Regions from separate parts of the Homo sapiens genome. Here all the other regions are linked to region 4. Evidence: promoter capture Hi-C in 16 types of primary human blood cells and fetal thymus (Javierre and others, 2016). All regions are on one chromosome and are shown on one strand. Each heading gives the region's core, a stretch centred on a gene start or on the middle of the fragment in contact. The rest is flanking DNA. Distances are from core to core; before and after follow the strand shown.

Region 1 (2,812 bases), core at 280-2,779, 510 kb after region 4:
CATTTGAGTCCAGGAGTTCGAGAGCAGCCTGGGCAACATAGTGAGACCCCCATCTGTATGAAAAAAAATTTTTTTTAATTAGCCAGGCATGGTAGTGTGCACCTATAGTCCCAGCCACTTGAAAGGCTGAGGCAAAAGGATCATGTGATCCTGGGAGGTCACAGCTGCAGGGAGCTATGATCCCACCACCGTACTGCAGCTTGGGTGAAGGAGTGAGACCCTGTCTGGGAAAAAAAAAAAAAGAATAAGTGGCTCATAGGGGCAGCGAGTGGAGTGGACGAGAACCTGGAACCTGGTGGCACCTGTCTGGGTTCAAACTCCAGCCCACAGCCCTTGGAAGTTCCCTGACTTCCCAAAGCCTCCGTTTCCTCCTCTGTAAAAGGGGAATGATCACAATGCTTGAATCACAGAGTAGTTACAAACATTGATGAGCCGAGTTTGGAACAGGTGGGTGATTCACAAACGCTTCCTGGAAGGAAATAATATGCCAATGGAAGCCCTCTGAAAAGAGGCGACCCCCATCAAAAACCCACAAACATAAGGGGGAGTAGTTACTGGAAGTTCACGGTTCAAAAATGCAGAGAGGTAAACTGAGGCCCGGGGAGGGACGAGGCCCTTACCTCGAGAACAGCTCACGCAGGCCGTGCAGCGGCCGGCCTCGTCCAGGTAGTAGTCGGGCTCACACTGCTTTCTGCAATCACCAGACCCCTCTGGGCATGGCTGTGTTGGGGACAGACCTGGGGAAAGAAGCAGAGAAGCTGCAGGCCAGGCCGCCTTGGCAAAGGCCTCACTCCCCACCCAACCCTGAAGCCCCCCATCCCTCACCGTGGCCAGCTCCCAAACTCCGCATGTCAGCTCAGTCCAGCCTTTCAGAGGGAGTCCTGAGGCTCAGAGAGGACAGGAATGCTGCGTGCATTCCACACGAGAGGAGGGTACTCATTGCCCCCCAACCAGCCCCTGCCCACTGTTCCTCCTGAGGCCACCATGCCACAGCTTCCCCCAACCCTGTCTCATGGCTCTGTCACTCCCCTGCTCAAAACTTTGGGAACAGCTTCCCTGAGAGCTCAGCACACTAGCGTAACTCCTGTTCAGAATGGTATTGGGCAGGGAGGGGCTGGGTGCCTCCTGCCTCCCTCTTTTAAAGACTGGTGTGGGCCGGGCGCGGTGGCTCACGTCTGTAATCCCAGCACTTTGGGAGGCTGAGGCGGGTGGATTACTTGAGGCCAGGAGTTTGTGACCAGCCTGGCCAACATGGTGAAACCCCGTCTCTACTAAAAAAAAGAAAAGTAGCCAAATGTGGTGGCAGGCGCCTGTAATCCCAGCTACTCGGGAGGCTGAGGCAGGAGAATTGCTTGAACCCAGGAGGCGGAGGTTGCAGTGAGCCGAGATCACGCCACTGCACTCCAGTCTGGGCGACAGAGCAAGACTCACCTCAAAAAAACAAACCACAAACAAACAAACAAAAGACATCATAGAGAGAATAAGCAAAGCCATGGAGCGGGAGAAGGTACAACTATAGGAAAAGAGCTCCAACCCAAAATTGTTAGAAGTCCCACAAATCCATTTTTTTTACAAAACCAACCCAAGAGAAAGGAAAGCACATACACGCAAAGATGTATTTTTCTTTCTTCATTATAGTCAAAAGGCAGAAACAACCCAAATATTCAAAAACTGGATAAACAGAGCTCGGCATATCTACGCCATGGAGGGCTATTCAGTAATAAAATGGGACTAGGTTGGGCGCGGTGGCTCACGCCTGTAATCCTCCCAGCACTTTGGGAGGCCGAGGTGGGCGGATCACCTGAGGTCGGGAGTTCGAGACCAGCCTGACCAACATGGTGAAATCCCATCTCTACTAAAAATACAAAGTTAGCCAGGCGTGGTGGTGGGCACCTGTAATCCCAGCTACTCAGGAGGCTGAGGCAGGAGAATCGCTTGAACCCAGGAGGTGGAGGTGGCAGTGAGCCGAGATTGCGCCACTGCACTCCAGCCTGGGCAACATGAGCGAAACTCCGTCTCAAAAAAAAGAAAAAGAAAAATGACTGAGGGTCGACCCTTCGCCATGGAGACCAGGAGGGCATCAGATGGACACGTGCAGAGGCTGGCCAGCTGAGTCGCAAGTGTCACAACAGCAGAGTGGGACCCATTTCCCTCTGACAAACCAACGTAGAGGGAAATAGAGGGAGAGATGGGGCACGGGTGTCCGGCACAAGGCAGGCCCTCTGCACTGCTGGCAAATGAATGAGCCCTCTGGTGTCTACCTCTGCCCCTCAATGCTTTCAGCCCTAGATCATACCTTACCACCGTCTTCTCTCCCCACCAGGAAAAGACCACAGATCACTGCCCGCCTGCTCCAAACACCCCCACTCATGGGCCATCCACCAATCGAGCACCCCAGGGAGACGACCCACAGCTTCATGGGGAAATTACCTGGATCTGAACTAGGCCTTCCCACAGAGGAGGGAGAGTCGGGAGCCCTCGTCAGTTTAGAAGCAGCTTCCTGGGCGAGGCGGGTGCCCCCTCTTACAGGCATGGTGCTGGCACTGGAGGTTGCTGGGGACACCGGGGTGGGCTTGGCCTGGGGGATGGTGCCACTGGGGAAGAAGCCAGAGATGGGACTGATAATTCTGCCAATGGGGCAAGGGAGGCCTGTGCTCACGAGTAACAGTTTCCACAGAGATGGGGTCCCAGGCCCTTGGCCCACTGCCTCTGGCGGGCCCACTGTAAGCTCCTGGGAGCAAGGCCTGTGTTTTCTAAGCCCTGTGGGTCTCCCATGTGCTCAGGGCAGGGCTGGGCACACCCTAGGGCCTCA
Region 2 (2,700 bases), core at 193-2,692, 310 kb after region 4:
CTCCACCTTCTTTCTCCAAGTGAGTTTGAGGAATAGATACACAGGGTGACCGTCAGCTGAGACTATGAGAGTGACAGAAGAACATAAGGTCTCACTCACATGAATTCTTGGATCTTGTAAATCATAAGGCCGCATAAATTCCTCTATGGGTTCTCCCAGGTTGTTCTCTAATAAGCCGCGGATCAGCTTGTATTTATACAGATCCAGAGAGCAGTGGACTGAGGAGAGATTGCCATGGATAGATATGTCTGGCACAGTATGACTTATTTCTCTATGAAAAAGAAAAAAGATCACTTACACAGACAAGTCACTAACTTAACACTGACATAGCTCACGCCCAAACAACGGGGCTAAAATGTACTCACCTACATTATCAAGTAGGTAATTCCTACTTCCAATGACAAAAATTTCATGTAGCTCCAAATGAAGCAAGTTAATATGACTGTCATGCTTCAACTACAAAAAGCCCCTTTTCTCCCAAAATTTACATTTAGAAAATCCTCAAACCAGGCCAGGTGTGGTGGCTCACACCTATAATCCCAGCACTTTGGGAGGCTGAGGTGGGAGGATCACTTGAGCCCAGGAGTTCGAGACCAGCCTGGACAACATAGTGAAACCCCATCTCTACAAAAAATGCAAAAATTAACTGGGCATGGTGGTGTGCACTTGTGGTCCCAGCTACTCAGGAGGCTGAGGTGGGGGTTCACTTGAGCCCAGGAAGTCAAGGGTGCAGTAAGCTGTGATCGTGCCACTGTATTCCAGCCTGTGTGACAGAGTGAGACCCTGTGGGAGGGAGAGAGGGAGAGAGGGAGGGAAGGAGGGAAGGAGGGAAGGAGGGAAGGAGGGAAGGAGGGAAGGAGGGAAGGAAGGAAGGAGGGAAGGAGGGAAGGAAGGAAGGAGGGAAGGAGGGAGGGAGGGAGGGAGGGAGGGAAGGAAGGAAGGAAGGAAGGAAGGAGCAAGAAATGGAGGGAGGGAAATCCTTAAACCTAGTATGAGGTAACTAATCTATTAATAAGGAAAACCTCATGAGACTCACAAAGAGCTTAAATATTACACTTGGGAAAGCAATAAAGAAAAGATGCCAAGATCTTTATTTAACTCTTTGGATTTAGTGGTAACTAAAGGCAAACACCAGTGTTTCATACTGAGCCCAGATGGGACATGAGGATAAACTCTGAATAGGTTCGTCATCTCAGCTGGGATGGACAGAAGTAAAGTTGAAGAGGGGGAGGGGCACACATCTGTACCTCATCTCAATACTAAAAAGCTTTCTCTAACCTCCCATGGGTGAACTGGGCATTGTGAATCCTACAGACACTATGCTCTAAGTATAGAGAGGGCTAGTGTTTGAAATGGCAGAGGTATATAAGAAAAGTTATTTTGTCTGCAGAGAAAAGCCGACATACAACAGAGTTTTAAAAGACAATGATGCAATAACAAAGAAAAACAGAGACGGCTGACCAAGTGCCATCTCGGGTTGCTGTGTGTGCAGTGTGAGACTGACAGGACACCTTGCATTCAGCATCACCTTCTATCAGGCCTAACAGAATACAATTATCTGCACAGAAACACTGATGGGAGTGGGGAAAGTTTAGATAAGCTGAATAGGAAAGCTTTTTTTTTGTTTTTTGGAAAGCATTGCTTGAAAAGAAAACAAAGTGTTCAATTTCTAAATAACGAAGCTCCTCTTAAGACTGCTTAGCCAGTAAAACCAAATATAGCCCATGCCAACCATAACTGAACACCAGCCAGGGAGCACTTGAATAACACGTAAGACTGAAACACAAACATCCCAGTGAGAACAGCTAAGTTGTATCATTAATCCAGAAAGAAACTAAAAAAGTGACATTAAATGACTTGCCCAAACCAAGAACTGTGAAGGGAGTGGCCAAAAAGAGATTCAAATCATGCTCTATACAAATAATAAACCTGTTTTTCTTTCTTTCTTTTTTTTTTTTTTTTTGAGACTGAGTCTTGCTCTGTCACCCAGGCTGAAGTGCAGCGGCTCAATCTAGGCTCACTGCAACCTCCACCTCCCTGGTATAATCAATTCTCCTGCCTCAGCCTTCCCGGTAGCTGGGATTACAGGCACACGCCACCATGCCTGGCTAATTTTTGTATTTTTTTTTTAGTAGAGACGGGGTTTCACCATGTTGGCCAGGCTGGTCTTGAACTCCTGAACTTGTGATCTGCCGCCTCGACCTCCCAAAGTGCTGGGATTACAGGCATGAGCCACCATGTCCATATGCCAAGGCGGGCATGCCAAGGCAGGTGGATCACGAGGTCAAGAGATCGAGACCATCCTGGCCAACATGGTGAAACCCCATCTCTACTAAAAACACAAAAATTAGCTGGGTGTGGTGGCATGCGCCTGTAATCTCAGCTACTTGGGAGGCTGAGGAAGGAGAATCGCTTGAACCCGGGAGGTGGAGGTTGCAGTGAGCTGAGATCTCGCCACTATACTCCAGCCTGGTGACAGAGTGAGACTCCATCTCAAAAAAAAAAAAAAAAAGAAAAAAAAGATCAAATCAAACATTAAATTAGAATCATGTGCTTAACTACCTGTATCCCTCAACAAAACATAAGTTCCTTCAAAGGAATTAGTTTTCTCTTTCATCACAGTAGCCCTCATGTTCAGCACATAGTAGGGACTCAATAAACATTTGTTAAATAGACGAAGAAATAAGTGAATAACTAGTT
Region 3 (2,797 bases), core at 161-2,660, 350 kb after region 4:
TATTTCCCACTCACACTATACCTTGGGTGTTCGTCAAAAGCATTCTTCCTAGATCCACGACAACTAACACAGGATTCTTGAATTTGAAATCATCAGGAAATATCACCTGAGGGGCAGAAATATCCAGCCGCACGGTCCATCGTTTACTCTCCTCCTGTACAAATAAAACAGTCATTAACCATAACTGCCGAAACCCAACAGCTTTATCCATGGTGCTCAAGCATTTCTGGAAGCTGCAGCTAGGATTATGGAGTGACTCAGTGATCTAATGTATTACAGCAAAAAGTCTAAGACAAAAGTAGATGTAAATGCTTGAGGATCTGAGAAATTACCACAGACAAGTATCTGAACAGGGGAGAAAAAAAATAGCAAATAACTAAATAGGGGAGAGTCTGTACTTAAGAAAGATTTTGTTTCTAATTTACAGGGTTTAATACTTTAAAGGATTATAGAAATTATAGAATTCAAATAAACATAGAATTCTAAACATTTTTACTTATTCAGGGGCATTGGTAACCATGAACTTCCATGCCAAAATATCTTAGTGAGAAACATAAGCTTTGACATTTGAAATATAAATAACACACCAATTCATGATTTGTTCATTGTTCTTCCCTCCAACCAAAATCAGCCTCAACTGTATGTATGTGGCAAAAGCTAATTTACATTACCAAAAAGAAACCTCTTTTGTTTACAAGAATACTAATTGTCATACTTTATGTAGAAACACACACACACACACACACACACACACACACACACACCAAAACAAAAAACAGGACTAATTCTCCATCCCATACTACACACCACATTTTACTTGGATCATTTCTGCTTCTCTGACACCTATAACTTACTCTGCACTGTCCAAAAGAAGCCACACTTTTTCTCACTGTGCCACCTGCTGCTGTATTGTAGCAGTGCACCTCCATGTCACCTGAGAAACTGTGCTTTACTGGACTATTTTGATTTCTTGAGACAAGGTCTCACTCTGTCACCCAGGCTAGAGGGCAGATCATAGCTCACTGCACCCTCCAATTCCTGGGCTCAAGCAATCCTCCCGCCTCAGCCTCCTGAACAGCTGGGACTACAGGTATGTGCTACCAGGCCCAGCTAATTTTTTTATTTTTTGTAGAGACAAGGTCTCACTATGTTGCCCAGGCTGGTCTCGAACTCCTGAGCTCAAACGATCATCCCACCTCCGCTTCCCCCAGTGCCAGGATTATAGGCATGGGCCACCTTGCCCAGCCTACCTACTGGACTGTGAAGATGTCTCTTGGCCCTCCCTATCTATGGCATCCTCATGGCAGCTGGCCATTTGGCATCACAAAGTACCTAATCATCACACCCTAGAATAGAAGCTGGGGCATCATTCCAGTTGTCTCTTCTGGTAACAGTAAGCAAAAAAGAGAAACTCTCACATGAAACATGCACAAAGTATCAGGTCTGGAAAATGGAACAAACACGAGTCTTTTTTTTTTCTTCTTCTTTTTGAGACAGTCTCACTCTGTTGCCCAGGCTGGAGTGCAGTGGTGCAATCTCGACTCACTGCAACCTCCGCCTCCCAGGTTCAAGTGATTCTCCTGCCTCCGCCTCCTGAGCAGCTGGGATTACAGGGACCCACCACCATGCCCAGCTAATTCTTGTATTTTTAGTAGAGATGGGGTTTCACCATGTTGGCCAGGCTGGTCTCGAACTCCTGACCTCAAGTGATCTGCCCACCTCAGCCTCCCAAAGTGCTGGGATTACAGGTGTGAGCCATAGCACCCAGCACAAAGATGAGTCTTGAAAGTAACCTCATCCTGGTGCAAGGAGACACAGAATCTAGTCACAGTCATTCATTTTATTAGCTAAACCCTGACTATAAAAGACACAAGATTCTATTCTATGCTAGCTGATAAGGATTTAATATTTTCAGTTTACTCAGTCAGCATAATTGATATAAGTAAGCCTATCTACAGTAAGTAGTGACTTGACGGAAAGAATTCCTGCCCCTTCCCCAATCCCCAAAGAGTGTTTATGGATGCCCACTTACAATGAAATCACCCACTAGCAAACGATCAAGAGTTTGCCGGATTTCTGCCTTGGTCTGCATCTTCAGCTTGTTATATTGTCTTCGGGCAGCTTCAGCCACTCTCAGCTCAAGTTCAGACTGATAACCAAAACCTGCAAGGTTGGAAATACACAGCAGAGTCAGAATTTTCACACGGCTGGGTGAACAAAAGTGCTACATCAATTCTCACCAAGAATGTCCATCAAAGCTTAAAAAAAAAAAAATCAGGCTGGGCATGGTGGCTCACACTCGTAATCCCAGCACTTTGGGAGGCCAAGGCAGGAGGATGCCTGAGCCCAGGAGACTGAGGCTGCAGTGAGCCGTGATCACGCCACTGCACTCTAGCCTGGGGTGACAGAGCAAGACCCTGTCTCAAGGAAAAAAACAAATCAGTAACAACAGTTTCTTACTCCAGTATGACCTGGCATAATACAGGGTAACAGGAATGAGACAAAAAAGCGTAAGTGAATGGACAGCCATGGGGGGAGAGGAGGCAAGTGAGAGAAGTGTACCTAAGTTACTAGAATTTCTTAAGCCATTTTCTGAAAGATTCCAAACTACTATATTTCAAAATTCTTAAAAAGCACTGAAAGAGAAAATGGAATTTCAAAGGAAATGCCTTCTATATTCTTTTTTTTCTCTTCTTCTTCTTTTTTAAGACAAAGTCCCGCTCTGTCTCCTAGGCTGGAGTGCAGTGGCATGATCTTGGCTCACTGCAGCCTCCGCCTCCCAGGTTCAAGCGAGTCT
Region 4 (2,700 bases), core at 38-2,537:
CTGCAGAACCTCTCCCCAGAACTAGGTCTTTGCAGGTGACGAGGTAATCCCAGCCTCCCCTCCCCGCAGATCAGCGTTTTTCGAAGTGACTTTCTCACCAGGCGGAGCATTGAAAGTACCGATCCCAGCGCACCCAGCCCTGCTGAATCAGAATCTCTGGGGGTGAGGCCCAGGAATCGCCGTCTGAACAAGTCGCGGGCTGGAAACGGCTGCCCCAGATTACAGGGCAGCTCCCTGCTTCGCTCTCGCTCCTCCGGCCCCGGGAACGTGCAGGGGGGCGGGAGGCAAGTCCCATCAGCACTTTGAACTGGGGCTGCTTTTTAGTGACTCACCTCCCAGACTTCCTGCAACAGACAACTCTAAATAGCTCGGTCCCACCCTCCAGCAGGGGAGACATTCCGGTCGGGAAGGGCAGGAGGTTAGAAGGTGGGTGCCCCGCCAGGGCAGTCCAGGGAGACCCAAGGACAGGAGACGCTGGCTGCACAGCACAGGGGCGCACGAATAGGACGTTTTGTTTACAGGCTTTTGTTATTAAGGAAATTGGTGTCAGTCAAGGTAATTCTAGCTCAGATGAGCAATAAATATGCTCCCAGCTAATCTTGTGGGGATTTTATTGGCACTCGGAGCAGAGGTTCCTTTACCTTGACTACTCCCTCCCCTCAAAGCAAAGTCCTGCTCCCCAGCGGCTTCCCCCTAAGCATCGTGAGGCACTTGGGTCAGGCTTTTAAAAGTCCACTCTACGTGAACACAGAAGAGGTCCGGGCAAAGGTGAGGAGTGGCTTCCTGATCCTACCTGGAGGCCGAGGATGACCAAATGACCTGAAATAAAACCCTGGGTGACCTGGTTGGATCAAGGCATACGCAAGCTCCCCCGGGCCTGCTCCACACTCGGGGTGATCACCTGGCCCGCGGGCGGCCCGGGCAAGGAGGAACGTCTCGAGAAGGCAGCCGGCTCGCCGGAGTCGGTTCCAGCGTGTTCGAGTTACAGCTGCGAGCCCTCAGGGACACCGGCGGCAAGTCCCGGCTTGCAGAGAGGGGAGCCAGTCCCGGGAGAGCGCGAGTCCCGGCGAGCCCGAGTGCGCGCCTTATGCGCGCTCCCCGCGACGGCGCAGGGGGAGGGGAGGCCGCAGCAGCCACTCAGAGGAACGGTAGTGAAGCCTCCCAACAACTTTAACTGTCAATCAGACTTAATGGGGTATTGAAAAAATGGGGGAAAAAGGGGCCGCCCTCTCCGCGACGCGGCTGCCCGGGGAGCGAATGAATAGGGCCGCGCAGACCAAGGCGTCCGATCCACGCGCGCTCCACACCCGGACCCTCTCCAAGTTGGAAAGGACAAAAAGAAGGCAATAAATGCTAAAAAGGGAGAGAAGGGGAGCTGGATCGAGCGGCAACTCCCAGCCTCTGCTGGAACAGAGAGGGAGGGAGGGAGCCGGAGCGAGCGAGCGCGCGCGAGGGCGAGCGCTGCACGTAAAGAAACTGACACCCGGACCCCCCACTTCTCCTGCACGTTGCTGGCAATCAGATCGCGTTTAAGCAATTTCCTGAGCCCAAGAATAGCAATGAGTCGGGAGACTTTCGCGGGCTGAAATTGGGAGCTCCAAGCACTTTTTCCCCCCACTTTTTTTTTTTTTTTTTTTCTGGAGACGGGGTGGGGGTGGGGGCGCTACAATTTGGAATCAGCTTTTTTTTTTTTTTTTTTTTTTTTTTTAATCTTGCACTTTGAAACCGCGGGACCGAGGCAGGGTGCGCGCGTGTGGTTGGTGCCTTTTTTTTTTTTTCTTCCCCTCCCTAAACTCCTCTGTCAGTCTGTAAACATTACCTGAGAATTCCCCAGCCGAAACGGCTGCTGGGGCAAGAAACTTCTTGTTAGAACTTTCCACCTCCGGCTTCCCCCTCCACCTCTTTTACCGTCCCAACCTTAGGAGACGCTTTTTCTCCCCCAGAGGAGAATTTATCTTTTTTTTTTTTTTTTTTTTCTTTTTCTCACCCGGTGCTTTGCATTTGGGAAGAGGTGATTTCAAGAGTGGCCAGGTGGGACGCCTCTCTCCTCCTTATTCGGTTTACTATTTATTGTTCGGGGTGTTTTTTAATTCCTGTATTGCTCGGCCCGGGGAGTTTCGCCCCCTGCCCGGCTCCGCGGCGCGGAGGATGGTGTGGAAACGGCTGGGCGCGCTGGTGATGTTCCCTCTACAGATGATCTATCTGGTGGTGAAAGCAGCCGTCGGACTGGTGCTGCCCGCCAAGCTGCGGGACCTGTCGCGGGAGAACGTCCTCATCACCGGCGGCGGGAGAGGCATCGGGCGTCAGCTCGCCCGCGAGTTCGCGGAGCGCGGCGCCAGAAAGGTACCAGGCACTGCGACTCCAGGGAGTGGGGGGCCGCAGGGGCGGGGGTAAGCCCACCTGCTGCCGCTGCGGGATCCCGCGCCCGGGAGCTGAGAGTCGCCGGCCACCCCACTTCTCCGCGCCACCCACGAGTGCTGAGCTAGTCGGTTTCACCTTGTAAATTTCCCGGGCACCGGACTGTCTTTTTTGGCAGGTTCAGAGTTGATCCGCTCCTTTGGGATCGGTGGCTGGCTGACTGGCTATTCACCCCCACCCTGAAACCTAAGAGACCCACCATTTCCCACATTCCTGCCTCCCAAAGGAAGGTGTTGTGCCCCCCTCCCCCGCCTTCCCCCCTTTTTCTTGCCGCCACCCTGG
Region 5 (2,700 bases), core at 18-2,517, 380 kb after region 4:
CAGTTGTTACAAGATACATTCTAAAACTGCTGAGAAATGTTAGTACGACTCTGTAACACATCAGATATCCATTTCTATTTACTCATTTCTTTGGCAAATGCTCTTGCCACATGATTCCTGACAGAACCAGCTCTTTGATTAGCAGGGTCGTGGTCTGCAGCTCTCTTTCTAGGCCCTGTTATCTATACGTCATACAACGTAGTTAGCTTCACAGTGGGTCTGAGAACTTCAATAAGAGACCAGAGAGGTGAACTTGACACTACTATTGCACTTTGAATGCATCCTCTTCCCTGACAGACTGCTCACTCGCACTTTCCACTTAGCTCCCGTTTCAGGACAAGAGGAAAACCAGGAGAATAGGAAAGGAAAGGAAGAGAGTGGGGAGGCGTGACCATGACGGCTCTGCCCATGGCCTAGCGCTGCCACAATCATTTGGTCAGAAAAACATGAAAAGCAACACTTTTTTTTTATTTTTTATTTTTTGCGATGGAGTTTCACTCTTGTTGCCCAGGCTGGAGTGCAGTGGTGTGACCTCGGCTCACTGCAACCTCCGCCTTCTGGTTTCAAGCGATTCTCCTGCCTCAGCCTCCCGAGTAGTGGGATTACAGGCACCCGCCACCACACCCAGCTAATTTTTGTATTTTTAGTAGAGACAGGTTTCACCATGTTGGCCAGGCTGGTCTCAAACTCCTGACCTCGTGATCCGCCTGCCTTAGCTTCCCAAAGTACTGGGATTACAGGCATGAGCCACCGCGCCTGGCCGGAAAGCAACACATTTAATGGAACATGTGAACCACCGGTACTCTATTCTCAGACTACGCAAACAGCTGTGTCACTGTTCTCTCTAACCTGCTCTGGTCCACTTACCAAAACTCACATCCACAAAGGTGAGGTTTCACTGTATTTGAAGTCTCCTTCCCATTTCCTATGATTTTACACACGTGGCAAACTGACTTTCTTCTCTTCCCTACGTATGTTAAAAAGCTCCATTTTGAGCTGAGCAAAGAGAATTTAAATTAAAACAAGGAAAGGGAGAAAATGCAGTTTTCGAATTCCCATGCCAAATCAGGGACTGCATTTACCAAGTCTAGGCCTGTAAAGGGTAAAATGTCTGAAGCTTCAGGTACTCTACTACTAAGCAAGTCAAAACCTCAGAAATTCTGTTGAACACCTCACAATAATCAATTTTAAAACTTTTATTGAGTGCTTACTATATGCCAGCAGGCTAGGGGCTTTAAATGTTATTCCAGTTGATCCTTAAAGCAACCCTCTGGAGGTATATTATCTCTGTCTAAGAAACTGAGGCTTGGAATTTCAATATGAGCTATTGTTCACATAGCTAATAAGTGACAAAACAGTATTTGAAGCCAAAGTCAATGCCACTGTCGGTACATTGTGGCTGCCTCCATAAAGCTTCATAAAGCTAAAAGTTAACTGGGACTAAGCACAGTCACCAGTAGTGTAGCTTATTTTGTTTTTGTTTTTTAATATTTAATAGTTCCTTAAAATCTACAACAATATAGCTATAAACTTAAGTTACTCTGGAAAAATCATCAGGATGATATGGGACCTTTTTACATACATTTAGTACAAAGCCATCTGGGCATTAGGTTTTATGATTCTCAGGACAACAAAAAAAATACAAAAATAGAAACGCCACCTATAAAGCTGTATCTCACCCAGAGAAATACTCACCTTTGAGAAGTGCAACTGAGAGCTGGTCAGTGTTCAGGTTATTGACATATTTTCCCAAATAGGTATTGAGAACCCAGGCTACAAGGCCTTCCAACATGACTATATCCTCAGGAAAAGGTGTTTAGAAATCATGGATCATTCTTTATTTCTCTCTTTCATGGTCACAGAAAAATCTATGAAAGGAAAATAATGAAAATCAACATAAAAACAGGATGATTTTCTAAGCCAATTTCCTCCTCTACCTGCCTGAAGGTAGATGAATGCAAAGCACAGATGTTTTGTTGGGTTTTGTTTGTTTGTGTTTTTGTTTTTGTTTTGAGACAGTTTCGCTCTCGTCACCCAGGCTGGGGTGCAGTGGCACAATCTCGGCTCACTGCAATCTCTGCCTCCCGGGTTCAAGCGATTCTCCTGCCTCAGCCTCCCAAGTAGCTGGGATGACAGCTGCCCACCACCACACCCAGCTGATTTTTTGTATTTTTAGTAGAGATGGGGTTTCACCATGTTGACCAGCCTGTCCCAAACTCCTGACCTCAGGTGATCCACCCGCCTCAGCCACCCAAAGTGCTGGGATTACAGGCATGAGCCACTGCGCCCGGCTGCAGATGTTTTAAAAGATGAGGCAAGAAGCTCTGTAAGATGTCCCCATCAGTAACTGGAGGGCCAAACCAAAACACCTACATTCTGATGCTGCTTCAGGGAATAGTCACTCTTAAATTTACCAAAAATTACCTACAATTCAAAGCTGTCTATCTTTTCAGTGTAACTGTCCATTGCTTGCTTATGTTGATTTACCTTGGGATTAGACTGCCGTGATCAGAGGTTCTCCTATGGGCATAATTTAGTAATCTCTGGAGGCATTTTTTATCATGACTTAGGGGCTGCTACTGGCATCTTGTGAATAAAGACCACGGAAGCTGCTAAACCTACAACACACAAGACAGCTCCCACAGCAAAGAATTATCCAACCCAAATGTCAACAGAGCCAATGTTAAGAAACCTTATCCT
Region 6 (2,700 bases), core at 125-2,624, 280 kb after region 4:
AACCCAATTTCTTCATGGGCTGAGAGAGAGTCTAAAGCTACCCGTATCCAAGTTCAGCTTCAAACAGCTCCAGCTAAGGAAATTTCTACCCCTTCGGACTTGTTTCACACAGTAATTTTGCCATTATAAACAGTGTAGGTTGTCATGCTATGTAAGCAGCTCAGTCCATCAGAAAGGACCTGGTTTGTAAATCATAAGAAGCAGATTAAAATACTAGGTTTGCTACTAGGAGGTCAAGTGAATAAAGGCAAATCACCTAGTGTCTCTGAACCTCACTGTCCTTATCAGCTAAATAGGAATAATGCTTGGCTAAGCCTGAAAGATTAAGTAACATATAGAAAGCTTAGAAGCAGGAATACACAAATAAATTAAGATTCAGCTCTGGGCTTTCTTTGTGAGCCCTCCCTCAAACATCCACCCTGGTAAAATTGTCCAGAAAAAAAAAACCCAGGGCAATGTACCCTGAGTATTAACATCCCTGTTCTATATTCCTGGTAGAGGGAGTTCCTGTGGTCTCTTTCTATTTAAAAAAATCATGACGAATAATCTGGAATTTGCCATGTACACACATAAATCATTCAGATTAAACTGCACTCCCTAAAACAAAAACTGAACATCTTGGGACTCCAATTCCTCAATGATTATGGTGTTTTCTACCACATTCACTTACCAGTGAATTTCTCAAGAAACTTTCAAAGATCAGAGATAGAAATAAAGAAAATTTTCTTTTTTATCTCCTAAACACAAAAACTGACATCCAAAGAAATTAAGGTTTGTGTCTAAGCAATTATTTACTGAGAATTTTTTTTCCGCTATCCCTATTATTATAGTGCCTGTTGCAGAGCCCCATGCCTTCCCATGAGAATTTTCAGTGGGTATTTTATAAACTTAAGACTTGTGGCACCACTGCTTGATGAAGCATGGTGCTCCTCAATCCACTTGCTCTTCAATATGAGAAATCACCTCTAACTGACATTGTATTAACATATTTCTGCATCATACACTGTGGAGTTTATTCCATTTCCACCAAAGTTAAGGGAGATGGAAGGGAAACAATATAAGAATCAGCTGATAATATGCACCACTCTGTTCATCAGTTGGAAATGTTCTTTCCTATTACTAAAGTACTCACGACATGGAATACCCCCAATTCAACTCCCACTCATTAAAAAAAAAATTGATGTACAAGGAAGTTCTTAAAACAGGAAAATAAAGCAAGCCCTCGCTTGGCTATACTGTACCTCTAGCATAGATCTGGTGCTCTAGGTTAGTCAGACTGGCTGTACTCCTAGTTCTAAGGTAGACAAGGGGGAGGCCTGGTAGACAGGAGAGACAAAGTTAGAGGCTAAGAATAAATACAGTGAAATAAGAAGACTTGCTTCCAAACGATAAGCACAAATAGAGAACATTACAAAAATAGCAAGCATCATGCAAGTACAGAGTCATTCCCATCAGTGATTACTAAGCACTACGAATGTACTTGACAAAGTGAACACATTTTTATGCTAGTTTTTATTGTGGAGGCTGGATCAAAGTAACATGCTTTTTTTTTTTTTTTCCTGAATTAGAAGAATATGTATTGAACCTTCTCTTGAACAGAATGACGAGCCTTTTGAAGATTTTTAATTTAAAGGTGTTATGTTCTTAAATGGCATTAAAAAGTTACAAAAATCCATCAGTACAGATTTTAGTGAAGGTTGCTCCATTCCAACTGGTAAAACACAGAAGTAAAATGCCAGTCTCAGGGGATCTCAAAAATTCAGGGGAAGAGTCAGTATGTGTTCCAAATTTAAACAATCTCTACCAAGGAGTTGTCTCATAGTGTTTATTTAAATTCTAAATCAAGCATGGAAGTTTTCAGAATATTTGATATTTTCATAAAATGTCCTTGGAATACAAAACTAATAAATTCAATGAAGTGCCACACCGCCCAGGTTTACCTGCAAAATCTCAGCCCTGACTGAACAAAGCCAACAATTTTGTCAAAAGGAGGCTGGTATTTTCTTTCCCCTGATAAAGAAACAGTGAGAAAGCAGCAGGTCCCTTAGGCTAAATTTCATGTTAAGGGCTATTCCCAAGAGCTTGTTTTAAGGCCAGTCTGAATAAAAAGCATAACTTTTGTAGGAATATGACTTACTATTCTTGAATAAGACCTGAAAGTTTATGATTAGTTCAACAAGGTTGAACCCTACTCACTTTCAAAATAAATTCCCAATGATCATTTTAGTAGGCCTGCTAAAAGAATACAATCCTGGAATGTACTGTACTACCATCCAGGAATTTCCAATAAGAAAAGAGGTTTGGAAATTTATGCATATTCAAGTTATGTCTTATTAAAAAGATAGATTACACTTTTATAAGCCTAAGTAATCATAAAAATCTTTAAATAAATAAAAATCAAGCTTTAACTCAGCACCAGCATTTAATATAGATGAGGAAGCCTTTTAACTATAGAGAAAGAGAGAGGGACAAAAATTTTAAAAAGGAAGGAAGAAAGGGAGGCAGGGAGGGAAGAAGGAAAGAAGAAAGAGAGGGACAAGAAAATCTTTCATCAGAATCTTGCAGACCAGGCCTTGCTAGAGTTTGACTCTGAATTGAAGATGCCCCTGCATGAATAATGTTTTAGAAACACACTCTCTTGGACATATTACAAAGATTATTTAGAGTCTTCTGGGTAGACTATGTTACATTTTCTTGACA
Region 7 (2,782 bases), core at 95-2,594, 260 kb after region 4:
AAACACATAGGATCACAGGCTTTAGTCAACAAGTCGATTCATGACAATAAGTGTTACTGAGTACCTACTCTGAGCCTTACCCTCTAACAGGAGCTATCTGGGTACCAAAGGCACAGAGCAGTTACTTGCATCACAGAACGTACAGTCTTCACAGAAGATGACATTAAAACTCGTGCTATTAAATAGGCACTCTCATCCTTCAAAAGCAAACTGCTCACCTGTCCCCTGGCAAATTCCCTCTGTGCAAATGCAAGCTTGTGAGATGATTTATTATCTAACAGGTAACGGGGGGCAAAGATGACCATGCAGGTATCAATGTATCGACCTCGGCCTTTCTTGACATCAATACCTACAAATAACAAGAACCACTTTTATGAGTTAACCATGAAGAGAGAAAACTCTTGGTCTGACAAAAATAAATAACCTTCACAGTTACTTAGTTTCTCTGAGAAAATAACTGTATCACCCAGAGGATATTGAACCTTCTAGGAATGTAATGAAAACAGCAATTGTACTCAAAGTATTATTACTCCTTATTCCCATTTAGGCCTTAAAAAGGTTCAGAGGCAAGATCAACATCCCCTTAATTCCTAGTTTCTTCACACAGTGTGTACCATTTAACAGCAACTAAAATACACAGGTGTCCAGTCACATATATGTTAGGTTTCCATTTATGAAGCTGAATACTTACAACAGTTTCACATGATACTTTTTGGCTTACACCTGGGACACAAAATTTCCTTCTAGAGAACCTGCCACTTTTACAGATACAGTGGAAATTTCAGATTACTTTCTTGGATTCTGTAATGTTCTAAACTTTACTGACTCTTCTCCAGTATTTTATTTTAGCCCATTGCCCAAGAATCCAGCTCAAACATAATGCTAAGTACTATAGAACTTATTCATGGCCGGGTGTGGTGGCTCATGCCTGTAATCCCAGCACTTTGGGAGGCCGAGATGGGTGGATCATTTGAGGTCAGGAGTTCAAGACCAGCCTGGCCAACATGGCGAAACCCCATCTCTACTAAAAATACAAAAATTAGCTGGGCATGGTGGCACGCACCTGTAGTCTCAGCTACTCGGGAGGCTGAGGCAAGAAAGAGAATTGCTTGAACTTGGGAGGCAGAGGTTGCAATGAGCCAAGATTGCACCATTACACTCTAGTCTGGGTGACAGTGTGAGACTCCGTCTCAAAAAATAAATAAATAAAAGAATTTATTCATCTATAAAATTACTGTTTTCAGCGCCTACTATGTATTAGGAAAAAATAAGAAAACAGTCCAAAGGAAATCTCAAGACAGCCGGTTCCAAATATAGAAAAGCACTGAAATATCTTAAAAACTCTGATAACAATTTTTAAAAATAAAAAATTCAGGCCGGGCGTGGTGGCTCACGCCTGTAATCCCAGCACTTTGGGAGGCCGAGGCGGGCGGATCACGAGGTCAGGAGATCGAGACCATCCCGGCTAAAACGGTGAAACCCCGTCTCTACTAAAAATACAAAAAATTAGCCGGGCGTAGTGGCGGGCGCCTGTAGTCCCAGCTACTTGGGAGGCTGAGGCAGGAGAATGGCGTGGACCCGGGAGGCGGAGCTTGCAGTGAGCCGAGATCCCGCCACTGCACTCCAGCCTGGGCGACAGAGCGAGACTCCGTCTCAAAAAAAAAATAAATAAATAAATAAATAAATAAATAAATAAAAATAAAAATAAAAAATTCAGTGGGATGAATTTATTCACTCATTCATTCAGACAATAAATACAGCAATGACATTCAACGTACTGGGCTGAGCTCTGGTCACCCATTGATAAAAATATTTATCATAGAAATAATAAAAATAACAACAACAACAACAATAATAATAATTACTGGTCTCTTAATACATGCTAGGTCCTCCCCCAAAGGCTTTACACTGAATCCCCATAACAACCTTCTAAGTTAGATATTTTAATTATTTCCATTTTATAGATGAGGAAACGAAGGCATGGAAAGCTAAGTAACTGACTCTATGTCACGCAGCTAGTATGTGCCATAACTGGGATTCAAGTCCAGGCAGTCAGCCTCCGGAGCAGCACCCTCATCAGGCTTGCTTGTATTGTGATGCGACATATACAAGGACTGCACTCCATTCAGCAGTCATCAAGTATCAAGAGAACCATTAAAATAGAAAACTCCACCTTAGCATTTGACAACCGGCTGTCATAGATTTCTCAACACAATCCCAATTATAAATATTCCAATCTGTAAATGCCGTAATTCACTTAAACTGGCTTGAAAATGCTGATGTTCCTTTAACACAAGCCTTGAAAATACCTGAAAGACTGAGAAAAGTCACACACAAAAATCTCTCTAAAACTCTGTATCTAAGAAATGCTATGTAATATTGGGATATGGAACTATACCCTATCACTTCTTTCTGTGACATGCAGAGAAGCTTTCATTGTCAGAAATCAACATTATCATAGTTAGGTGATATCTAATAAAAAGTCTAACTACAAAAGATGTATCTAATTTAATATTATAAAAAGAGTCTAGGGTACTCTGAACAATACAGACACTCAATCTTTGGAAAAAGGTGGGCTTCTTTCCCCCTTCACATCTTATATTGCCCTGGGAAACCCCTGATAAATCAATAAGTTGATAAGATCAACAGGCACAAAATCGTTCTTTTTGGAGATCCATGTGAGGCTACCTGGCAAGCCTGTCCCTGGCTTTTCAGTTTGGACTATGCTTTAAACTTTCCTGATAGGGAGTTGGTTATCTATCCTATTCTTCAAAATATTCAA

The links. The method cuts DNA at HindIII sites, captures the fragments that hold promoters and counts their contacts. A CHiCAGO score of 5 or more calls a contact.
Region 1: a contact is called between a fragment that was not itself captured here and the fragment with the promoter of DHRS3 in region 4, in 1 of 17 cell types (fetal thymus). The highest score is 5.1, in fetal thymus.
Region 2: a fragment that was not itself captured here is called in contact with the fragment with the promoter of DHRS3 in region 4 in 16 of 17 cell types (fetal thymus, activated CD4 T cells, total B cells and 13 more); the score reaches 23.0 in fetal thymus.
Region 3: a fragment that was not itself captured here is called in contact with the fragment with the promoter of DHRS3 in region 4 in 10 of 17 cell types (fetal thymus, naive B cells, naive CD4 T cells and 7 more); the score reaches 11.1 in fetal thymus.
Region 5: a contact is called between a fragment that was not itself captured here and the fragment with the promoter of DHRS3 in region 4, in 1 of 17 cell types (fetal thymus). The highest score is 6.3, in fetal thymus.
Region 6: a fragment that was not itself captured here is called in contact with the fragment with the promoter of DHRS3 in region 4 in 16 of 17 cell types (activated CD4 T cells, non-activated CD4 T cells, naive CD4 T cells and 13 more); the score reaches 22.3 in activated CD4 T cells.
Region 7: a fragment that was not itself captured here is called in contact with the fragment with the promoter of DHRS3 in region 4 in 13 of 17 cell types (total CD4 T cells, endothelial precursors, non-activated CD4 T cells and 10 more); the score reaches 10.4 in total CD4 T cells.

What each region holds. Positions count from the first base shown.
Region 1 is chr1:12,109,823-12,112,634 of GRCh38, reverse strand. It overlaps TNFRSF8 (TNF receptor superfamily member 8), which reads right to left. Exons shown (of 15, transcript NM_001243.5): 6 at 2,431-2,594; 7 at 621-737. Among named protein-coding and RNA genes, the nearest start is that of TNFRSF8, 48 kb to the right of the region's middle. The HindIII fragment of the contact is 4,166 bases long and covers 1-2,812 here.
Region 2 is chr1:12,309,025-12,311,724 of GRCh38, reverse strand. It overlaps VPS13D (vacuolar protein sorting 13 homolog D), which reads right to left. Exons shown (of 70, transcript NM_015378.4): 28 at 100-271. Among named protein-coding and RNA genes, the nearest start is that of VPS13D, 80 kb to the right of the region's middle. The HindIII fragment of the contact is 346 bases long and covers 1,270-1,615 here.
Region 3 is chr1:12,270,360-12,273,156 of GRCh38, reverse strand. VPS13D (vacuolar protein sorting 13 homolog D) reads right to left here. Exons shown (of 70, transcript NM_015378.4): 17 at 2,033-2,163; 18 at 22-154. Among named protein-coding and RNA genes, the nearest start is that of VPS13D, 42 kb to the right of the region's middle. The HindIII fragment of the contact is 1,700 bases long and covers 561-2,260 here.
Region 4 is chr1:12,616,797-12,619,496 of GRCh38, reverse strand. It overlaps DHRS3 (dehydrogenase/reductase 3), which reads left to right and starts at 1,287. Exons shown (of 6, transcript NM_004753.7): 1 at 1,287-2,343. The coding sequence starts at 2,149. RefSeq lists enhancers at 1-398, 399-1,030, 1,031-1,662. The HindIII fragment of the contact is 18,116 bases long and covers 1-2,700 here.
Region 5 is chr1:12,233,359-12,236,058 of GRCh38, reverse strand. VPS13D (vacuolar protein sorting 13 homolog D) reads right to left here. Exons shown (of 70, transcript NM_015378.4): 2 at 1,696-1,868. The coding sequence starts at 1,792. Among named protein-coding and RNA genes, the nearest start is that of VPS13D, 4.7 kb to the right of the region's middle. The HindIII fragment of the contact is 296 bases long and covers 1,120-1,415 here.
Region 6 is chr1:12,336,847-12,339,546 of GRCh38, reverse strand. VPS13D (vacuolar protein sorting 13 homolog D) reads right to left here. Exons shown (of 70, transcript NM_015378.4): 40 at 1,242-1,316. Among named protein-coding and RNA genes, the nearest start is that of VPS13D, 110 kb to the right of the region's middle. The HindIII fragment of the contact is 2,060 bases long and covers 345-2,404 here.
Region 7 is chr1:12,360,287-12,363,068 of GRCh38, reverse strand. It overlaps VPS13D (vacuolar protein sorting 13 homolog D), which reads right to left. Exons shown (of 70, transcript NM_015378.4): 51 at 219-349. The region is part of intron 1 of LOC124903845 (a long non-coding RNA gene); the gene reads left to right. Among named protein-coding and RNA genes, the nearest start is that of VPS13D, 130 kb to the right of the region's middle. The HindIII fragment of the contact is 2,176 bases long and covers 257-2,432 here.